Regions from separate parts of the Homo sapiens genome. Here all the other regions are linked to region 3. The links are contacts of gene promoters, found by promoter capture Hi-C in blood cells and fetal thymus (Javierre and others, 2016). All regions are on one chromosome and are shown on one strand. Each heading gives the region's core, a stretch centred on a gene start or on the middle of the fragment in contact. The rest is flanking DNA. Distances are from core to core; before and after follow the strand shown.

What was found. The method cuts DNA at HindIII sites, captures the fragments that hold promoters and counts their contacts. A CHiCAGO score of 5 or more calls a contact.
Region 1: a contact is called between a fragment that was not itself captured here and the fragment with the promoter of FBXL22 in region 3, in 1 of 17 cell types (non-activated CD4 T cells). The highest score is 6.1, in non-activated CD4 T cells.
Region 2: a fragment that was not itself captured here is called in contact with the fragment with the promoter of FBXL22 in region 3 in 2 of 17 cell types (M1 macrophages and M2 macrophages); the score reaches 6.5 in M1 macrophages.
Region 4: a fragment that was not itself captured here is called in contact with the fragment with the promoter of FBXL22 in region 3 in 2 of 17 cell types (M1 macrophages and endothelial precursors); the score reaches 5.7 in M1 macrophages.

Annotation. Positions count from the first base shown.
Region 1 is chr15:63,439,796-63,443,181 of GRCh38, forward strand. No RefSeq gene overlaps it. Among named protein-coding and RNA genes, the nearest start is that of LINC02568, 51 kb to the left of the region's middle. The HindIII fragment of the contact is 6,752 bases long and covers 1-3,386 here.
Region 2 is chr15:63,401,443-63,404,837 of GRCh38, forward strand. All of the region lies in intron 4 of LINC02568 (long intergenic non-protein coding RNA 2568), which reads left to right. Among named protein-coding and RNA genes, the nearest start is that of LINC02568, 13 kb to the left of the region's middle. The HindIII fragment of the contact is 2,865 bases long and covers 1-2,778 here.
Region 3 is chr15:63,595,571-63,598,824 of GRCh38, forward strand. It overlaps FBXL22 (F-box and leucine rich repeat protein 22), which reads left to right and starts at 1,817. Exons shown (of 2, transcript NM_001367807.1): 1 at 1,817-2,175. The coding sequence starts at 1,823. All of the region lies in intron 1 of USP3-AS1 (USP3 antisense RNA 1), which reads right to left. The HindIII fragment of the contact is 9,685 bases long and covers 1-3,254 here.
Region 4 is chr15:63,419,238-63,422,931 of GRCh38, forward strand. The region is part of intron 4 of LINC02568 (long intergenic non-protein coding RNA 2568); the gene reads left to right. Among named protein-coding and RNA genes, the nearest start is that of LINC02568, 31 kb to the left of the region's middle. The HindIII fragment of the contact is 895 bases long and covers 1,257-2,151 here.

The DNA of each region.
Region 1 (3,386 bases), core at 657-3,156, 160 kb before region 3:
ACCCAAGAGCTGACTCTGGGAGGACCCGTTTCTGAGAAGCAGAGGAAAAACAGGGCCCAATGGTGCCTTGAAATTAAACACATGGCATCCAGGTGGGCCAAATATGGAAACAAAATAACAGCCATACTCTGGGAAATCACCATCCTGGCCACATCTGAGGACACTGGTCCAGATTAAAAGGGAGAGAGGGAGGGAAAAGGGGCAAGCCAAAGAGGCTGAGCTACTGCCAGGTTTGCCCCTGAGGAGAGACGCCAGGGCTACTGTTCTAAGCTGCGGCTGTGACTGCTGGATGAGCCACAGGAAACTGTCATGGGGATGGCTGTAAGAGGCAGAGCTGAATAAACACATGCTGGATGACAGAATGACTGCATGGACGAGCAGGTGGATGACTGGAAGGAATGGGACAAAATGAAGGGAACCAGTGCTCAGTCATCCTTGTTTCCACAGGCAGAGGGTTCTGGTTGCATTTGCCTCTGTATTTCTGGAACTGTTTTTCGATTTGGAATGTTGGATTCTGGCTTTAACCAAATTTATTATTATTTGTATTTAACTGAAGTGGGCATGTAATGACAGCAGCCAAACTCCAGTGAAGAAACTCCCTCAATACATAGCTTGTTGGAAGACACCAAAGGGGGGAATACACTTGACCCCTCATCTCCTCTCTTACCACCTTCCCACCCACCACCAGCCCAGAAAGAGCACCCATTTCTGCCCTAGAGGAACTCTGAGGTCACCTTTGCAGAAATGTTGTCACCGGCCAGGTCACACCGGACCTTGCTGCTAACATTGGAATGGAGACCCACTATCCAAAAACCACATCTAAACCTATCCTTGTTTTTATCCAGTCCCTGACAAGAATTTACAAAAATACCGACTTGTGACTTGACTGCGAGGGGCCTTTGTTGTTTAATTTTAAGAGTACTTCTGTCCATGCAGCAGAGAAAATAGAGCACTCATCTTAGGGGCAGAAAACCTGGGCTCTGTTCTCAAGTGAGACATTTTATCACTTTGGATCTGAGTTTCCTTATTTGCAAAATGATATGATCTCTACCTCTCACAGGATGTTGTAGAAATCAAGTTGCAAATTAGATGATGCGTCTGAGCATTCTTTACAAAGATAAGCCACTCGTGATAATATTCATCAAGTGTCTGCTTGGTGCCAGGTGCAGTTTTAAGAGCTTTACATGAATCGGCTCATTTGATCTTCACAACACCATGAGGTGGGCACTGGTATTACCCACACCCTCAATGAGGAGACAAAAATGCGCTCCCAGGACCACTCAGCCAGGTAGGGGAAGCCCTGAGAAACGCAGCCAGGTAGTCTGGCTGCAGAGCCTGCGCTGTGAGAATGACACATTCTTCTGGGTGTCAAAGCCATCGTTAGAGTCTGACCATAACTTCATCAAGCCTGTCCATGTTGGAGGGGATGGTTGGGTGGTATTGGCATTGACATTCCAACCAAAGGCTGATTCCAACATGTGTACAAGGACCACCATTATTGCACATATTTGTCTGAAACCATTGGTAGAAATGTTTCTGTGGATTAGTGGCCCATGAAATTGTCACAGAAAAGGAAACGGAAGCTCAAGGAGGTTAACAGCCTTAGACCAAGTTCACCAAGCCAGGAAGCAGCATGAGTGGGATTTGAACCCAAGTTCCCAGAACCCACAAATCTGCCTTATGCCAGGTCACCTCACATACATCCTGTTTAGATGCTGAGCCCAGACAGCCTGGACAATGGGACAAAGTGAGGGAGCACACTGTTCTCCTGCCAATGGGGGTTCTATATGAATAATAAACAATAGTACAAAGACACAGGCGTGGCCAGGCAAAGGGATCATTTTGGAGTATGGGATACTCTCTGGGAAAGAAGACATGAACAGGACACAACAGTGGGGCCTGGGATAGGGCTGTGCAGTGATCATAGGGCAGCTCGGGACGCCAGAGGCAAATGCACAGACTCCAGAATCTTCCCTCAGGCCATCCTGGTGATGAACATACTTTCCCCACCCATGGCCCTGCCAAGTGGCTCTTCTGCCCAGGGGACCTCATCCCTGGTACACATCGCCTATGTGGTTCCTCAGTGGGGGCCTGGTCTCTGAGCTCACCTTGGCATGTCTGGAAGTCCCATACCCTATGCTTTGGAAGGCTAGAAACATACTTCTCTTTAAATGGGCAAGCCCCTCCCCGCACCATCATGCTGTTTAAAAATAAGAGTGGACCAAAACAGCAAGTTGGACTCTCAAACCCCTGTGCTTTTCATCCTGGGCCAGAAAACCATGGGGATGATTTCCAAAGCTCTTTCATTTGCCCAAATAGGGTGCCCACCTCACACTATCCAAAGACATTCTTCAGTATAGCCCCAGACAGGAGCTCAGAGCATTTTGAGCAACTTCGGAGCTCAACTGAGTCACAGCTTTGACTTTTTTTAGGTCAAGACTACTCATCTAAATAAGGCACAAGAGAAACTGGTGTTTTAAGCCCTTGTGACAAGATGAAAATAGCTCCCCCGCCTTCCTCTTCCCCACTCTTCCACCTTCAACACCTAACTTACAGAAGTCACCAGTCTGTGGCCAAGGATCGTAATTCAGACTGTGGTTAAGGGAATACCCGCCGGGGAGGCTCCTCTGTTAGCTTTGGACCAACAAGTGAGGCCAGGCTTCTGGCCGCTGGGCTCTGGCTTGGTCCTGGAGACCCCAAGTCTCTGAGATGTGAGAGATGACATGTGCAGGGTCTGATCACCGGCCATGTGAAGGCACCAGCTGACCAAACAGAGTGGCCATAAGCTGTGGCCTTGGAGAAGCTGCACATCTGGCTGATGGGCAATCATAGCTGCCTTTCCGGAGCATGTCCCCAGTAGGGATTCACATAGAGTCACTGCTAAGGTGAGGTTCAAGAGCGAGCACCCCGCACAGAAGAACAAACTGGAGACGAGAGTGAGGACCATGGTCAAGTTCCACTAAACTGGGCCCTGGTCTTGTTCACTGTTTTCTTGTGTGTCTTGTTCACTGTTCTTCCTAACATCTAACACGGTGCCCAGCTCATAGTAGTCTTCCAGTGGAAAAAGTTTCTCTTCTGGTGGCTACAGAATCAGTATGCTGTCTTGGAAATGTCAGATGTTTCAGTCCCAGTTCTGTTGAGTAACTTTAGTCCACAGTTTCTTTATCTATAAAATGGGTATAAGTCCCCCCAACCCGCCTTCCTCCCAAAGTTACAGCAATTAATAGGGGAATACTTTGAAAACTGAAAGCCTCTGGTAAACTCAAGGAAGTCTAAGTCTTGCTGATGGGGGGTGCTCTTCCTCTCAGCTCTTACGGTGCCCCAGTTTTAAAGCAGTTAGAACCTTGCAAGTACATAGCTGCGAATTATTTCTTTTGATCATTAAA
Region 2 (3,395 bases), core at 96-2,595, 190 kb before region 3:
CCCAGATTCATGTTCAATTGCTACTACTCCTCTTCTGTTCAAAGGCCAAATTTAGATATGCAAAACTTAAGGATTTTATTTTGGATCTTATTGAATTTCCCAAGGGCAAAGGCCATGACTTGATTTATCCAGCTGGAATAATACTTTGCCTTATTAATAAAATAATGCTCAGGGAGAGGTGTTACTTCTCTGAAAAGGAACTAAACTTTAGTTGTTTTTACAAGGATAGAAGGGAAAGCTAACTGTTACATGTATAACTCTGAGAATTTATATAGGGCATAGATATTTCTAGTTACAAAGAAGGTTTTAGACTAAGGAACTCTCCTAAGAAATAGAACAGAGAGGATGGAAAAAGCAGGGCCCATATCTTCCTCATGATTTTGTCCCTGATATGGTTTGGCTGTCCCCACCCAAATCTTATCTTGAATTGCAGCTCCCATAATCCCATGTGTTGTGGGAGGGACCTGGAGGGAGATAACTGAATCATAGGGGCGGTTTCCCCCATACTGTTCGTGTGGTAGGGAATAAGTCTTACGAGATCTGATGATTTTATAAAGGGTTTCACCTTTCTCTTGGCCCCCATTCTCTCTTGTCTGCCACCATGTAAGACATGCATTTCACCTTCCACCATGATTGTGAGGCCTCCCCAGCCATGTGGTACTGTGAGTCCATTAAACCTCTTTTTCTTTATAAATTACCTAGTCTTGGGTATGTCTTTATCAGCAGCATGAAAATGGACTAATACAGTTCTTATGGCCCAGACCAGAGTCTTGCAGAGCTGCTAGGCTGCACAACTTCAGGAAACACTATTTACATTGAGGTCTGTGCAAACTGTGCCCTCTGCTCCCATCCCCAGAGTTGTGCAGTGTACATGGGGCCCCTGCATAGCACACAGTAAATATTTAAGAATGAATGTTAGCCAGGCATGGTGGCTCACACCTGTAATCCCAGCACTTTGGGAAGCCGAGCACGTGTGTACACACACACATTTGTGGTATTTAGCAGAAGTTTTTTTGTTTTGTTTTGTTTTGTTTTTTTTTTTAGAAAAGGTCTAGAGCTCTGTCTGTGCAGTGGCACAATTATGGCTCACTACAGCCTCAATCTCCTGGGCTCAGGGCTCAAATGCTCCTCTCACCTCAGCCTCCCAAGTAGCTGGGACTACAGTTGCACGCCCTCATGCCTGGCTAATTTTTAAAAATTTTTTGTAGAGATGGGGGTCCCACTATGTTGCCCAGGCCAATCTGGAACTCCTGGTCTCAAGCGGTCCTCCTGCCTCATACTTCCAAAGTGTTGGGATTACAGGCATGAGCCACAACATCCGGCCTTAGTAACTGAGTTTTAACTGCAACGAAAAATAAACCAAATTAGAATGAGTATCCCTATTGGGTAGCCTCCAGGAGCGCAAGCCACTTTGCTTTGTCTGTGACAAAGTAGGAAAATACCTAAATGAATTGTAAAGATCAACAATAGACCCAGAGAAGAAACTCACCAAATTCTGCAGGTTAAAAACGATAAAAAATAAAAGCTCATTTTGGCTAATGGTGACACCTAGTGGAGTATCAAAACTGTGGGGTTTTCTTGGAGTAAACTATTTTATTTCACACAATGGAGTAGGGGAGTCCCTGGGATTGTGTACCCTTGCTCCCTTCACAATAAGATAAGGAGATGAAGACCTACAGGCCTCCCAGGGTAAGCAAGTACAGTATTGCTCTAGAAGAGACTGTTTCTGTGTGCGGTTGCAGAAGACCTCAGAATCACACCAGAAGGTCTCAGCAAGTGAGATCAGGGGCCACTCATCACTTAAGACAATTATTCCTCTCAGTCTATGCCTTTCCACTTGAATGTCACTCTTTCTCCTGCTCCTTGCCCTCCTTCTTTCCTCTTCTGCTTTTATTTACCCCATGTTTATCCTCTGCCCCCTTTCCATTCTTAGTTCTCTAAGCCCATTGATGCCTCCCAAGATGTTACAAACCCCAGAGCAACACGATCTAGTATGGTAACCACTGCCCCATGTGGCTGTTTAAATTCAAATTAAGTAAAACAAAATTAAAATAAAAATTCAATCCCTCAGTCTCGCTGGTTCCATTGCAAGTGTTCAACAGCACTAGCGGCTACCATATTGGACAGCGCAGACGCGATCATTCCCACCATTGCAGACAATCCTGTTGGAAAGCATGGGCCTGAGGCTTTGTTTACCTCGCTCGGCTCACCTCTTTTCCTTCTCAGCACCTCTTCTCTAAGTGGCAGTTCTTGAGACGGTCTTTCTGCTCCTCCCTGTCCCTCCCTGCTCACTCCAGTCTATTGGGTGGCTTCCTGTTTTCTGTATATTATTATGTAAACTTGTTAACGTGACCTTGCCAAGGTACACACACAAAATATGTAATCACATTGGACAGTTTGTTCAGGACAATGATTTCAGACCATCTTGTTTTCCATGCATTGGAACACATCAAAATATTTTTAAACTCAACACATCAACACGTCATTTAAAACAATTATACCCCAGGCCCTTTTTTTTCTTTTTTAATCTATAGGTTCCTACTTTTTTACCTTGTCTTATGCTAAAGTAGCTTTAAAATTAAACAGTACATCTTCTTAAAAAATACCTAAAAATATATATTTTATGCATAGAACGGCTCTGGAATGAGACACGGGAAACTGGTAACACAGTGCTGTTTGGCTGGGATGGACATTTATGTGGAGAACCCTTGTATAGTATTTGGATTTGTACCAGGCGTGAGTGTACGTGTGCATATCTGTGTAGATATGTGTATATGAAGCTTTTAAAATTAAATTGAATTATGAATAACTTTTGAAAAGAAAAATAATACTTGAAAATAAATCTCACAGCCTTGAAAGGATCAAACTAAAATGATTCCAGGAAGATGAGCTCTCAGACACAAGGTCATTTCTGAATGAGGCTGCATGGTTTCAGTGACGATGTGTCTAATGCGTGGAGATGTGGTACTGTGTTCACTTTATGTGCAATGACGATTTGCTAAGAATTAGAATACTCTGGTAAGTGACACCTTCTGACTGCCAGTGAAAGTTTACATTAGAAAGAGAGCCTTCTGGCCAGGTGTGGTGGCTCACACCTGTAATCCCAGCACTTTGGGAGGCCGAGGTGAGTGGATCACGAGGTCAGGAGTTCAAGATCAGCCTGGCCAAGATGGTGAAACCCCGTCTCTACTAAAAATACAAAAATCAGCTGGGCGTGGTGGCGCATGCCTGTAATCCCAGCTACTCAGGAGGCTGAGGTGGGGGAATCGCTTGAGCCCTGGAGGCGGAAGTTGCAGTGAGCCGAGATCGCGCCACTGTACTCCAGCCTGGGCGACAGAGCAAGACCCCATCTCAAAAAAAAAAAAAAGAAAGAAAGCCTTCCTTTGAGCCTGTCA
Region 3 (3,254 bases), core at 567-3,066:
CTCTGAAAAGCATTGGTTTGAGGAGGATTGGGGAGGGAAAGTGGAGATAATGTGGCTTTCTAATAACACCACCTGTGGTTTTGCAGCATCCATTTTAAGTGGAGAAGTACACCTAGACAGAGCCTAAATTAGGGTGTCAGCTATAATTCAGAACTACATTGATGAGCTTGAAATAGCAGCAGTATCTTGCTCCCCTTCCTTGGGAAATGCTTCCTTTCGACCTCCTTGGTTTGTTTTTAAGAGAACCCCCTACTGTACTTCATCTTGGCATGGTGGAGTAATGGAGGCACAGGGGCACCAGCTGAGGCTGGCTTCTCAGGAAAGCCACTGACAATGGCTACTTCCTTCTTTGCTTGACTGCCTTCTGCTTTAAAGGCAAAGCTGCACCAGCCCTGACCAAACCTTAGTTCCAGAAGTGGGTTCAGCATAGGCTGCTTCATTTGTGTCTATGGGAAAACACAAGGATTCCCATTCCCTCTTATTCCAAATGGGAGAACAAACAGAAGTAACCACTGAGGTGGTGGTCCCTGGGCTGGCAGAGGAAAAACCATTCTCTTCTCACTATTGCCTAGGCAGAACGTGGCCTATACAGCTGCACCATATCAGCATCCCCCAAGCAAACCAAAAAACAACGACTGGGATTCAAAGCAGGAGAGTTAAGGTTGGGTCCTGGGTTTGGGAGTGAAGCAGCATGAGGAAACGGGTCTGCCATATCGTGAAGCCTCGGGTACTCAGGAAGGGGGAGCTTCACGGATAGTACCTCCAGGCACCTTGCCTAGAGTTGAGTCAGAGAGGGCAGGGGTGGCCCACTGGCTTCTCCAAGAGGGAACGGAGGGCACTCATAGAATGGATGGTGTGTGGTCAACTTAAAGGCAAAGATGGACTAAAATACTGAACTTAAAATTGTTTCAAGCAGTTTCACATTAAGAGCTACCTCATCCATCCTGACATTTTGGGAAGTACAGGTTATACATAGTACAAGGCCTTATCAGTGAGAAAATGTAAAGCCAAGTAAATTTAAATTTAAAACACAGAAAGTACTGCTTGACCAAAACTACAAAAACAACAACAACAACAACAAAGCACCAATAAAACATAAAACACAGACACACAACTTTGGAAAGCAGCTACTTCAGTAAAATTCTTTTATGAAACAACTCAGGGTAAAAATCTAGCTGTTGGGGAGGCCCAGGAAAATCCCCCTGCCTAGTGGCAGGCAGCAGGGCTTGAAGGCCAACCAGCCTAGCCTGGAGACAATTACTCTATGGCACAAAAATAACAGGAATGAGGCAGCAGCCATGGACTCTGCTCACAACTCACAACCGTCACCCTTAGCTCTCCACACGCAACAGGTTTCTTCCTAGTAAGGGTGGAGCAAAAGATTCACACTGATGTACTAGAAAATCAAAACAGTTAACATTTACAATTACACTCCTTCCCCCTAAGTACAGACTGCAAAGCCAGACAGAGCTGGCCTGGCCGCCACCACTGCCAATGAAAACGCCTTGGGAAAAGCCAAAAGTGCTCACTGCTAAACACCATTGTCAGCTAAAGGGAAAAAAAAAATCCCTTTTAAGGAAAGTAACTTCAATAGGCTCCTTTTCTGCCAGGACCTCCAATCCCTCTGAACATAAGCCGAACCACAGACTGCCGCACATGTGTCTGGGTCCTGGCTTTTCTTCCCTCACCCCTCCGCAGAGCTTCAGCACCAGTTGTTAGCCAAAAATAAACACCATTCCTCAACCATATATGTCCACCGGCCCAGAGTCGGGGAGGAGGAGAGGAGGCAGGTCAGCCGTCCCCCGGCTGCAGCTGCACTCACATGTGGCCACTGCTCACCATGCACATAACCCAGCTCAACCGGGAGTGCCTGCTGCACCTCTTCTCCTTCCTAGACAAGGACAGCAGGAAGAGCCTTGCCAGGACCTGCTCCCAGCTCCACGACGTGTTTGAGGACCCCGCACTCTGGTCCCTGCTGCACTTCCGTTCCCTCACTGAACTCCAGAAGGACAACTTCCTCCTGGGCCCGGCACTCCGCAGCCTCTCCATCTGCTGGCACTCCAGCCGCGTGCAGGTGTGCAGCATTGAGGACTGGCTCAAGAGTGCCTTCCAGAGAAGCATCTGCAGCCGGCACGAGAGCCTGGTCAATGATTTCCTCCTCCGGGTGTGCGACAGGTAGGCCACCTTGCCTCCTGAGCAGTGCTGGCCCCGCTAGCTCTGGCTTCCCTCTTGGGGGGCAGGGAAGAGCAAATTACGAGACCAAGATGGCTCCACCTTCGGGGCGCCTCAAACTAGGCCCAAGGCAGACATCCAGACCGCCCAAAGCAGGGTCCCCAGGAGACAATAAAATCATGAGGGAAACAATTGCTAATCCTCCTCTTAGCCTCACAGGTCCTGGGCTGCTTCATGCAAACACCAAGAAGTGGGGCCTCCGTACTGGTAGTCATTAAGTGCTGGGTGGGTCCAGCTGGGCCTGGATTTTCAAGGTCAGGCTCTGGGAAAAGGCTTCCAGATGCAGCAATCAGCTCACCCCTCCATTAGGCCTAGCAAGCAGCCCTCAAGGCCTGGGAAACTACGGAGGAAAGAGAGGGTGGGGAGCCAGAGGTGGAGAAGCCAGGGTGCTCAGGTCAGCTGAGCCAAACCAGACTCCAGGAGTAGATGAATTACTGATTTACACAGTATTCCTAAGGAGGGTGGCTTAGCCTAATTTTTCAAATTAGCAAACTGATGCTCCACGAGGTGGTATGATTTGCCCAGTCTAGGGTTGCCAGATTTTAGCAAATATATAGGCTGCCCAGTTAAATATGAATTTCAGATAAACAGTGAATAATATTTTAGTGTAAGTATGTCCCAAATACATCTTGTGTTTATCTGCTAACCCCCACCCCAGACACAGACATAGACACTGAACCACCAGGCCAGGCTCCCTCCATGGTCCCAGCCTCATGGGCAGAGCGGCCCAGGCAAGAACACAGAGCTATTCAACCAGCCTCTCACTGAGCTTCTGCCAGTCCCGTGCTGCCTTTGAGGAAAAACACCCCCTTGATCATATAACAAACTGGCCCTGGCTGTTCATGGAAAACTAGACTCAGCCAGTTTACTGCCACCCAAGTTCATAGCTGCTATTTGCTGGCAGCACGACAGGAGTGGAAGGAAACAGCGTAGTGACCCCACCTTTCTTTTGAGCTGGTAGGAAGAAAACAGAAGATGGACTTGGGGTTGGGCCCCGACTGGACAAGGCTATTTTGATGGGC
Region 4 (3,694 bases), core at 454-2,953, 180 kb before region 3:
TGCAACTCCTGTCTGCTCAGTAATAAAAGGAACATATAGCATCTTGCACTGCTCCTGAACATCTCTATGTTTTCCAGATTTTCTTGTTTGATATTTTAAAGTTAAGAAGAGAATATAAATAGCAACATAGGCAAGGCTGGATCTTATAATTCCCTGTATTTCCCCGATCAGGGCTCTATTAGAATTGCATTCAACGTTTGTTTATTGTCTCTCTCCCTCTTGAACACAAGCTCCTTTGTCTGCGATATTCCTAGTGCCTTACACAGTGGCTGCCACCTAGTAGGTGCTCAATAAAAATCAGTTGAAAGTTGTAAAAGAGAACAGTAATCTCCGGAAGTTAAGATTCCCACATGGTTGCTGATACTCGCAGGCGTAGTCAAATTTTTCAGAGTCTGCCTTTAAGCCCTTAATGGATGCCTGATAATTCTCTGCAGTTTCTGACAGATAAATTAAGAGAAAATAAGAGTCCAAGCCATGTGAAGGAAGACGATTTGGGACTCAGAGGCCATTGTAAGGCAGGCTGGCCCTGGGAACAACCCTGCAACAGGCTCTTGCTTTACCGCCCCTTCCTGGTTCTACACCTGAGCGCTGGACCTACCCCGCCCAGGCCCACTGAGGCCCAGGCACCCCCAACACTTCTGACTTGGATGAAGTGCTATGCCATGGGCCACGGGATCTGGCTTCTCTAGTGGCCGTCCATAGGAGGCAGGAACTCCATCTAAAAATATGAGTGAGTTGAAGCCCCGTGGGTGAACTTTGACCAATGAGAGATGGGGGATAAGATCCTGCAGATAAATTCGTTTCTTCCTCACATCCCAAAAAGACTGTTTTGAGGCACAGTGGCCCCATGTGCCTCTCTGGAGATCTGCCATGTGAACCCAAATGCTTTGTGTTTCTTGTGAAGCTTCAGCCAGCTTGGCAACATCATCATGAGATTACTTTCCTGCCTGTTATGGGTTGAATTGTGCCCCCACAAACATATGTTGAAGTCCTAACCCCCAGTACCTCAGAATGTGAACTTGTTTGGAAATAGGATCATTGCAGATGTAATAAAAGACGAGGTTATACTGGAGTTGGGTGGGTCCTTAAGCCAAGGTGACTGGTGTTATAAGAAGATGAGAGACACACAGACACAGACACAAGGGGAGAACGCTATGTGACAACAGAGGCCGAGATGGGCATTACACCACCACAAGCCAAAGAACATCTGGGGCTACCAGAAACTGGAAGAGACAAGGAAGGATCCTCCTCCTAGAAGCTTCCAAGGAAGCATGGCCCTGCCGGCAGCTTGCCTTCATATTTCTAGCCTCCAGAACTGTGGGAGAATACCTTTCTGTTGTTTTAAGCCATCCCGTATGTATTAGCAGTACTTTGTTATGGCAGCACTTGGAAATTAGTACACCATCTCACTTCCATTTTCCGCTGACTCATGCTGTGCTCTGAGATTGTCCCTCCATAAAGTGTTAGCACAGAAACTTTGCCTTAGGCTTTGTTTTCTAAGGCAGTTAACAAGGTTATATATATGTATGTGTGTGTGTACGAGTTAAAGTCCATAGTGAACTTAGATCAATGATAGATGATTTTTAATATATATGCATTTACAAGCATAATATATATGCATTTACAAGCATAATATATATAATACATATAATGCATTGACTATATATGCATTACAAGCATATATATATATATGCTTAAATTATTTTTGAAGGGACACATAAGAAACTGGTAAAAAGGGTTGCCCCTAGGGAGGAGAAGTAGGGGGCTGTGGGACAAGGACAGATGAGAGAATTTTGTTTTCCTTTTTGTACCCTTGTCATGGTGGATGATATGGGTTTGTTAGTTGTTTATTTAAGGTAAATTTAAAACATTTTAAAGATAATGGCCTAGGAGGGTCTCTGAGGCTCTAAGAAGGACAAAAAGAGTATAGAGGGACTTGTGCAGACCTGGTAACAGGTAAGGGAGGTGTGTGGATGTCCCAAAAGATGCCAGCAAATTCTGGACCAAAGGCTAGTCAAGATGAATTAAGTTTCAGGAAATAAACAAGGGCAGGTGTCTCTCTCCACTACGGAGCTAACACTTGAGCAACCCCAGGACAGAGGAGAACTCCCCAGAGAGAAGAAAGAGAAGGAGAAAATACTGACTTGAGCAAGCTTAAAACTAAAATGACCAAGAAACACATTTAAGTGTCTGAATTTGCTTAGAATTGACTATTTTGTTATTGTTGTTTATATTTAATCAGTAGTTAAAATGGGAGCTCAAGATATTGTTTAAATTACAGAAAAACAAAATTCGATATTTGGGGGATACTCAAGGTTATAGCTTGGGAAATATTATACCCACACCTGTTATTTGGTTTAATCCTCTCAACCACCTGTATAAGGTTAGTATCCCCATTTTACAGATGAGAAAACCAAGACCTAGAGAAGTTCAATGACTTAATCAAGATTATACAACTTTGAGGACAGGCATAGTGGCTCACACCTATAATCCCAGCACTTTGGGAGGTGGAGGAGGGCAGATCATCTGAGGTCAGATGTTCGAGACCAGCCTGGCCGACATGGTGAAACCCCATCACTACTAAAAATACAAAAATTAGCTGGGTATGGTAGCACAAGCATGTAATCCCTGCCCCTCAGGAGCCTGAGGCATGAGAATCACTTGAATGCAGGAGGTGAAGTTTGCAGTGAGCCAAGATCGTGCCATGGCACTCCAGCCTGGGCTACTGAGTGAAACTGTCTCAAAAAAAAAGATTATACAACTTCTAAGTGTTAGAGCTGGCACTTGAATCTAGGCGCATGTAGACTCCAAACCTGATCCTCTCTTCCAGACTCCAGATTTCTTTTTGAGTGGGGTTTATTCCAGCATTTCTAAGAGAGGTTCACACATCTGTCAACTAAGAGGCTGGTTGGCTCTTAAGGACCAAATCATGCTCTTGGGTTGGGGGTAGAAGAGGCAGAATCAGGGGAGGAATGGAAGACATAGAGGGAGAGACGTGAACTTCCACTCCCATCCATCTCTGTATCCCTTCTTGAAGAAGGGTCTCTTGTCTAAATGGCTCCCTCTTCCTTCAACACAATTTGATCTAAGTATGTCTCTCATTCTACCCTAATTCCTGACAACCCAGTGTTTTGGGGGCCTGATTTAAAATGGCTTGAAGCCAGACGTGGTGGCTTACACCTGTAATCCCAGCACTTTGGGAGGCCGAGGTGGGCAGATCACTTGAGGTCATGACTTCGAGACCAGCCTGGCCAACATGGTGAAACCTCGTCTTTACTAAAAATACAAAAATTAGCCGGGCATGGTGGCAGGAGCCTGCAATCCCAGCTACTCAGGAGGCTGAGGCAGGAGAATCGCTTAAACGCAGGAGGGAGGCAGAGGTTGCAGTGAACCGAGATCGCGCTACTGCACTCCAGCCTCAGCAACAGAGACTCCGTCTCAATGAAAAAATTAAAGTTAAAATTAAATTAAATGGCTTGAGTTGACAGGATAGACCATTGTTCACACAACAGGATATCTGTTATTGCCAGAGCACCGCCCAAGGTACAATCTGTGTGTGCCTTGACGGTAATTTTCCTAAAGGCAAACTAGGTATGAGGTCTCAGTTATTCCTGAATAGGACTAAGAGTCAGGAGGATACAGATGAACTTTCCTCCACCGAGGTATTAATAATTATTTCTTAAATAAGTAGATG